Linked DNA regions of Homo sapiens: region 1 is linked to region 2. Evidence: promoter capture Hi-C in human tissues and cell types (Jung and others, 2019). All regions are on one chromosome and are shown on one strand. The core of a region is centred on a gene start or on the middle of the fragment in contact, and the rest is flanking DNA. Distances in the headings are between cores, read along the strand shown.

Region 1 (3,881 bases), core at 1,100-3,599, 530 kb after region 2:
TCCCTCTCAAAAAAAAAAAAACCCTATAAAAGAACACTCAAAAAACAAGAGCTCTTGGAACTTAAAAATATAGTTACAGAAATTAAAAATTCAATAGATATTTTAGAAGATAAGTTGAAGAGGTCTCCGGAGAGTAGGACACAGAAAGAAAAAGAACCGAAAAATAAGAAAGAAAAGTGTAGGCCAGGCATGGTGGCTCACGCCTGTAATCCCAGCATATTGGGAGGTTGAGGCAGGTGGATCGCCTGAGGGCAGGAGTTTGAGACCAGCCTGACCAACATGGTGAAACCCCATCTCTACTAAAAATACAAAAAATTAGCCAGGCGTGGTGGTGGGCGCCTGTAATCCCAGCTACTAGGGAGGCTGAGGCAGGAGAATCGCTTGAATCCGGGAGGCGGAGGTTGCAGTGAGCCAAGATCACACCATTGCACTCTAGCCTGGGCAACAAGAGCGAGACTCCATCTCAACAACAAAAATAGATAAATAAATACAGTTAGCTGGGCATGGTGGCGCGTGCCTGCAGTCCCAGCTACTTGGGAGGCTGAAGCAGGAGATCGCTTGAATCCGCGAGGTGGAGGTTGCAGTGAGCTGAGATTGTGCCATTGTACTCCAGCCTGGGCAACAAGAGCAAAACTCATCTCAAAAAAAAAAAAAAAAAAGGCAATTATGAACTTCAAAACCATTTGAGCAAAAAGGGAAAAAATAATCATAGTTACTCTGTGGCTTAACTAGGAACACTATTTATATGTGTTACTATTTACAGCCATATCACATTGTTTTAACCAAAGACTACAGACACTACTCACTTAGAAAGAGGCAAGGAAATGTGTGTATTGTGTGGGCAGGGAAGAGAATGTAAGACAGTGAAACCTTCTTACAAAGTCAATAGATAATGTGTGAAATGGCAAAACAAAGAAGTGGAAATATGTCATAGAGAAGAAAACACTAGAATAAAAAGGCACAGCTGGCCCGACGCCGTGGCTCACGCCTGTAATCCCAGCACTTTGGGAGGCCAAAGTGGGCAAATCACCTGAGGTCAGGAGTTCGAGACCAGTCTGACCAACATGGAGAAACCCCGTCCATCTCTACTAAAAATACAAAATTAGCTGGGCATGGTGGCTCAACGCCTGTAATCCCAGCTACTCGGGAGGCTGAGGCAGGAGAACTGCTTGAACCCAGGAGGCGGAGGTTGTGATGACCTGAGATCACGTCATTGCACTCCAGCCTGGGCAACAAGAGCAAGACTCCATCTCAAAAAAAAAAAAAAAAAAATTAGGCCAGGCGCAGTGGCTCGCTCCTATAACCCCAGCACTTTGGGAGGCTGAGGCGGGTGGATCACCTGAGGTCAGGAGTTCGAGACCAGCCTGACCAATATGGTGAAACTCCATCTCTACTAAAAAAATACACTCCTATTACCCCAGCAATTTGGGAGGCTGAGGCGGGTGGATCACCTGAGGTCAGGAGTTCGAGACCAGCCTGACCAATATGGTGAAACTCCATCTCTACTAAAAAAATACACTCCTATAACCCCAGCACTTTGGGAGGCTGAGGCAGGTGGATCACCTGAGGTCAGGAGTTCGAGACCAGCCTGACCAATATGGTGAAACTCCATCTCTACTAAAAAAATACAAAAATTAGCCAGGCCCACACCTGTAATCCCAGGAGAATTGCTTGAACCCAGGAGGAAGAGGTTGCAGTGAGCCGAGATTGCACCACTGCACTCTAGCTTGGGCAACAGAGCAAGACTCCATGTCAAAAAAAAAAAAAAAATTAGCCAGGTATAGTACACGCCTATCGTCCCAGCTACTTGGGGAGCTGAGGCTTAAGGATCACATGACCCTGGGAGGTCCAGGCTGCAGTTAGCCGGGATAACACTACTGCCCTCCAGTCTGGACAACAGAGCAAGACTGTGTCTCAAAAAATAAAAATAAATAAATATATAAATAAATAAAGCTTAGGAGAGAGACATCTGAGCTGGAGATGATCAGCTGGGAGAGAGTGTGGAGATGGTATTGAAATCCACAAGACTGGAGATGACTGAGAGAAGGAGAGGAGAGAGCAGAGGCCCAGAGCAGAGCCTGGGGCAGAGCCTGGGGCTCACCAACACCGAGAGGCCATGGAGAGGAGGAGGGAACATCACAGAGCCTGGCAGAGTGGCTTGGGGAGAGGCCACCCCCCAAGCAAGTGTACAGGAGGCTTCAGGAGGAAGATATTCTGGAGGAGTGGTCGGGGTGGTGTCTATGCTGCAAGTAAGTGGTCAAGTAAGAAGCGGGTGGGACATGGCCAGGGAACAGATAGCCTGGAGACGTGGCCACCTCAGCAGGTGCACTTCTCACGTGTGGATGGTGTCAAAATATATAGAATAGCCATGGCCAAGGAGTGAGAGGGAGTCGAACAGCACCCAGAGAAAGCTTGGAAGCAAGAAGTGGGATTCTGCGGAGCAAGCGTTCAGACAACTACGATGTTTTGCAGAGAAAGGGGGCAGAGAGGTGGGGCCTACAGGTAGAAAGAGCAACCTGTGGACTTCTGGGAAGTTTTTGAGATGTGCGCGAAGCACATTGCATGGAGCATTTTGCCTGGAGCATGTTGGTTGCCAATGGAGGAAGGGAGGAAGAGTGAACAGGGCACAGAGGGGCCACCCTGCAAAGCTTCCTTCCTCACCCACCCCCAGGTCCTGCAGTCCCTAATGGTGCCCCCTCCAGGAAGCCTTCCCAGAGCTCCCAGGCTTGGGCCTCTCCCACCTGAGCCCCAGACTTCTCAGGGGCACCCACACACACACTGTCTATGAGGATCTGTGGGTCTTAGCTTCCTCCCTGACAGCTCCCTGGGAAACAGGCACTGAGACTTACTGGTCTTCATCCGCTTCAGCATCTGCCCGGGGCCCAGGACCTGGCCTGATGCTGAGGTGAGTAGATGAGTTTCAGTGGGTGTTTGTGGGGTCAGTAAACAAAGGTGTGGATGGACAAACGGGCAGACGGACAGGCCACTACAAGTCACTAACATCCCAGAGCCCATACCCCAGGCCCTAGGTCTCCACATCTCATGGACCTGAGGCCCGCTTTCTCCCTGCCCCGACCCACCTTGGGATCCAAATCGAAGAAGCTGTAGTACTTGAAGCGCAGCCAGAGTGCGTCCCCGGCCTTGATGCCCTGCTGCATGAGACACCGCGACGAGTCCAGCCACCTGGGCCGCGGCAGAAGCAGCAGTCAGGGCTGCGCCAGGTACGGCCGTGGGGTGGGGAGGGGGGCTGGGCTGGGGGGACAAGCACACACAGAGAAAAGGCCTGGAAACGAAGTGTGGATCTGGGGTGGGCACAGACACGGGACAGGGGGTGGATCCTGGGTGGGGGAGCCCTGACACAGGGGGCGTGGCTCCTGGGTGCACCTGCTGTGGAGCTGGGTCTTGTCTGACAGGGAGCTGGGCCGTGGCAGACGCTGGAGCAGGAGGGGGTCGGGTGGCGGCTGGGGCCGGCTCAGCATGTGGTAGCAGGCCTCAGTCTGGGCGCTGTCCGAGAAGTGAGCTGGCATCCCCCGGAACAGTGCAGGTGCCACGCCTGGAGTGCAGGTTGGGAGTCAACCAGGCCTGTCCCCCAGGGCTGGGACTCACGGGCCGGCCCCTGCCCCCAACCCCCCAGGCCCACCCCCACTTGCACTCACCCCCAGCCAAGACAACCTTGCTCAAGTCATAGAGCTCTTCCTCTGGCTCCTTCTCTTTCTTCTTCTTCTCCTTCTTCTCAGGAGCCCGGAGCAGGGACAGCTCCTCGGGGTGCCGGATGCCTGAGGGGAGCTAGGGTCTCAGCGGGGACTAGGTCCTGCTGCAGCCTCCCCACCTCACCCATGGGTGCTTGGGGCGGGTCACAGCCCTGCAGGCAGGGTGGCAAC
Region 2 (4,042 bases), core at 763-3,262:
CCGGGGGCGGGGCGTCTGCCTGGGTGGGGCCCACCGGGGCTGGGAGCCGGGACTTGGGCTGAGGCTTCCCGGACCACGGAGGATCCGCGCTGTCGAGGGCAGGACCCAGGAGGGGGAGGAAGCAGAGGATGCTCGGCGCCTTCTTGGCTCCGCCCTTAGCCCCGCCCTACTGCGGCGTTTAAGGGTCTCTTAGCAGGTGGCTACACTGGATCCAAAGTCGGGGGAGTGTTACGGCAGGGAACACTCGCAGACCGCCTAGTCTAGGCCCTCATTATGGGGAAACTGAGGAACAGAAAGGTCCTGTTTCTAAGTCTTACATTACCAAGACTGAGGTGCGGGGGCGGTCCTGGATCCCCCGCCCCAAGGCTGGGAGGGGCACGCCTCGGAAGGGAGGTTTGGGGTCGGTGGTTTCACAGTGAGTGTGTCTGAAGCCAAATGGTCGGAAACCGTTACCCGCTCTCCTAGGCCCGGCTAGTGGGGACCCCAACCGCCTGCGGCTGCCCCTCCCAAGTTCCTCCCTGTTGGCCAGGCATCCAGGTCTCCAGTCTCCGAGCTGCGGAGAACCCACCGCCACATGCGGCTGCCCCTTTCCATTCGACCCTGTGGGGAGCCAGGCTTCCGGGGCCCCGTTCCTCCTGTGTGAACTGGGCCCCCCGCCCCCATTCCCAGACATCAAGGCCGCGTCTCCAGATAGCCACGATTTCATTCCTCGCTCCCCACAGGTCCCTCTCCCCAAAATATTCCCATCTTGTCCTAGCCCATCCCCCAGACTATCTCAAGGACCAGCTGTCCCCACGCCCCCGACCTCCACTAGGCCTGTGCCACCCGCTGCCTGCAGGAAGACGCCCGGTCCCGGGCCGGGTTAGCCCCATGGGAACGGTTTGTCTCGAAAACAGGAACCCGAGCTGGGGGCTGGGCGGGGCGCCCCTTCCCCACCGCAGTCCGCTTCCTGCCCCTCCCGGCTTCCTCCGCCCGACACCCAGGCAGGGCGGGGGGCACTGGGGCGTCCGCGGTTGGGGGAGGGGCTCTTCGTTTCGGTCCCCCCTCCGCGTCCCGGGCGGCGGGGCCTCCGGTCGCCCGCCCTCGGGGCAGCTAGTGGCGCAGCCCCCCGCCCGCGGCCCTGGCCTCCCGGGCGGCGCGGCAGGGGAGGGGTTAAGCTGCCGCAGGGACCGCCGCGTGCGGGGCGAGAGGGAGCCCCCGGTGGGGGTGGCGCAGCCGGCGGTGCGGAGCTCCGCGCAGGGGCGGAGGGGGGAGGGGGCAGCCTGGCGCGGGGGCGGGGGCGGGGCGGCGGGGAGCGGGGCCGCGGCGTGGAGAGCGGGCGGGAGCCGCAGCCGCAGCGAGGCCGGCGGGCGGGAGCGCACGGAGGTGGGGTCGGCCAGGCCGGTGCGGGCTCCTTGCGGCAGGTCCCAAGAGTGAGTGGGCGAGCGCGGGCGGGGCGCCAGGCGAAGGAGGGCGCGGCCCCCAGCGACTCCCCCCCCGCCCAGGGCGGCGCGGGCGGGCTGGGGGCGGCGAGCGGGTGGGGAGTCTGCGGCCCGGGTCTGGGAGAGGGGGCAGCGGCCACGAGAGCTAAGGCGCGCTGGATCCCCGGAGGGCGGAGGACCTCCACGGTGCACCCAGCTTTTCCCAGCCACCTTCCAGCGGGGCCCTCCCCCGCGTACCCCCATTTGGCAGATGAGAAAATTGAGGCTCCCAGAGGCCAAGTGATTCTCAAGGTCACACGAGGAAGCGGTAGAGCCAGGCGGGGACGGCTCTGGGTGGCTCTTAGGAAAAGTCCGCCTGAGAACTCCGTACAGGAGCTCCCCTGTCCTCCAGCCTGGGGGAGTGAGTATGTGTAGGGCCGGGGTACCTTTCCGTGGGGCAAGGCTCTGCCAAAATCTGGGAGTGAGGGGAGTCAGGGAGCTGGGGCCGCAGGGCGGGCCCTGCACCGCAAATGGGAGGGGGGCGACGGAATGGGCGTGCGCACCCATGGGGGTGTGTGCATGTGTGTGGGAGTGTACATGCGTGGAGAGGCACTGCCTTGCGTGTGTGCACACGTGTGAGGATGTCAGCGCCTGTGTGGCCGCGGGACTCAAGGCTGGCCTGGCTCAAGTGAACAGCACGTCCAGGAGGCGACCTCGTCCGCGGGTTTGCATTCTGGGGTGGACGAGCTGGGTATGTGTGCCTGAGGGTTTCTTCGTGCAGGTGTGCACAGGGTGTGGGTGCCATTGTGTGTGAGAGACGGAGGATGGGAGGCCGGTGCCTGTGGCCCGGTGCGTGTAAGTGCGGACGCCTGCACCTCCACTTAGGTCCCCGGCCTCCGACGAATAACTTGGGTGTGGAGTGTTTGCCCCTGCCAGGGTGCGTATGACCCCGCCAGTGACCGGAGTTGCTAATGGTGTCATGCACCCACCGGCCACCCTTGGCGCGAGCGCCCCCCTCTGGACACCCTGCTCCGTGCGCGCTCACAGTTCGCCTGTGCGGGGCCGGGGCCAGGGTCAGGAGCCGGGGATAGGGAGGAAGAGGGCCTGTGGACAAGCTGAGCCGGGACCCCTGGGACCTTTGCGGAGGTGGCCTGGGAGCGCTCAGTTCCCAGGCTCAGGCTTCCCGCTGACGCCTCCTGGCCGCAGCGGGCTCCCCCCGCCCCAGGAATGTTCCTCTCCCATCCAGTCCGCCTCCCCTAGGGCAGGCCCCCTGGGGGCTGCCGCAGCCCCGCCTCGCCTTCCTGGGCTCCCGGGAGGGGGCGAGGCGGGCAGGACGCCTGGGTTCTCTCCCCCCACCTCCCATACCAGGGAGAAATTCCTCCGAGGTCCCCTCAGGCTCTGGGTTCCCAAAATAACCCTGCGGGGGAAGGGAGGCTGTGGAGGGAGGGAAGCGGGAGGGGCGCAGAGCCGAGCTGCGGGGTGCTGCAGGTGCCTCTGGGGAGAGGGCGCGAGGAGAAGGCGCCCTGCGGGGGGCTGGGCGCCAGCCAGTCCTGGGATCTTGGTTCGTCCCCATCCTCGTGAAGCCCCTCGGCCTTCCCGCGACTCCGAGGGTGGGCCGGAAGCCTCTCTGCGGGTCCGTTTCCCAACTGGCGGGTTGCACCATCCCGGGCCAGACCGTTTAACCCCGGGAGTGGCCGCGGGGGACAACTCCGCCCCTGTCCAGCAGGGGGCGTGCCCGCCCCGCCCCGTTTCTGCCCGCGGGGCCGCTCCCCCGCCCGCGACTCCGCAGACTCCCGCTCTGCCTCTCCCGGGACAGGGGTTCGGTCCGAGCCCGGTGGGAGGCTCCCGGAGCGCAGCCTGGGCCCAGCCCACCCCGCGCCGGCGGCCATGGCAGGCACCCTGGACCTGGACAAGGGCTGCACGGTGGAGGAGCTGCTCCGCGGGTGCATCGAAGCCTTCGGTGAGTGGCTCGGGAGGGCACACGGAGCCTGAGCCTAGCCCCGAGTCTGAGCCCGGGTCCCTGCCTCCCAGGCACAGTCCAGGGCACAGCCCTGACCCGGACCCACCCTGCTCCGCAGCGTGCAGTCTCTTTAACGAAAGCCTCCTCCGCAACGCAGGGCAGAGAGATGCACGCCCTTCAGACAGATGAGGTTTCCCTTCTCTAGCCTTCCCCAGCGGCGGCGAAGGGAGGGCCGGGTCCCGGACTCTGACACTTGAGGGGCATTATCTGTCTCCCGGGGAATCCGGAGGAACTCGCTATCTCCGGCCTGGGAGCTGTTTCCGGCTAATGGGGGGCGGCTTATCTGGTGAAGGGGTGCCCCTTCCCCCCAAGCGCTCAGGAAATGACCTCTGGATTCTTGACCCCGGGGAACCCAGGCTCCTTCCGCCCCAGCTGGTTCCCCTCCGGACGATGGGCGGCTCGGGCGCTCCCCTCCTCCAGTCCTCAGGGCGTGCCTATCTCTCGCCCACCACACCTTTCCTCTCTAATTTGCCTCCTGCTCTCGGAGTCCTGGGCAAGCAGGAGGTGGGCGGGGTCGAGCGTGCACCCGAAGGACCGATACCTGGCGGGTTGCGGGGTGAGGATGAGGCATGGTAGCTGCGGACCCAGCTCAGCCACCTGTCTTTGACCCTTCGGAGTCAGA

What was found. Contacts are between HindIII fragments. The study calls those that stand out against the background at their distance.
Region 1: a contact is called between a fragment that was not itself captured here and the fragment with the promoter of RASGRP2 in region 2, in 2 of the 25 tissues and cell types used here (adrenal gland and spleen).

What each region holds. Positions count from the first base shown.
Region 1 is chr11:64,210,947-64,214,827 of GRCh38, reverse strand. FERMT3 (FERM domain containing kindlin 3) reads right to left here. Exons shown (of 15, transcript NM_031471.6): 4 at 3,657-3,776; 5 at 3,385-3,553; 6 at 3,081-3,183. Among named protein-coding and RNA genes, the nearest start is that of FERMT3, 6.2 kb to the right of the region's middle. The HindIII fragment of the contact is 4,882 bases long and covers 1-3,881 here.
Region 2 is chr11:64,742,112-64,746,153 of GRCh38, reverse strand. RASGRP2 (RAS guanyl releasing protein 2) reads left to right here and starts at 2,012. Exons shown (of 17, transcript NM_001098671.2): 1 at 2,012-2,151; 2 at 3,217-3,360; 3 at 4,042. The coding sequence starts at 3,288. RefSeq lists silencers at 896-1,095, 1,346-1,455, 2,446-2,495, 2,656-2,705, 3,016-3,345 and 1 more. The HindIII fragment of the contact is 18,641 bases long and covers 1-4,042 here.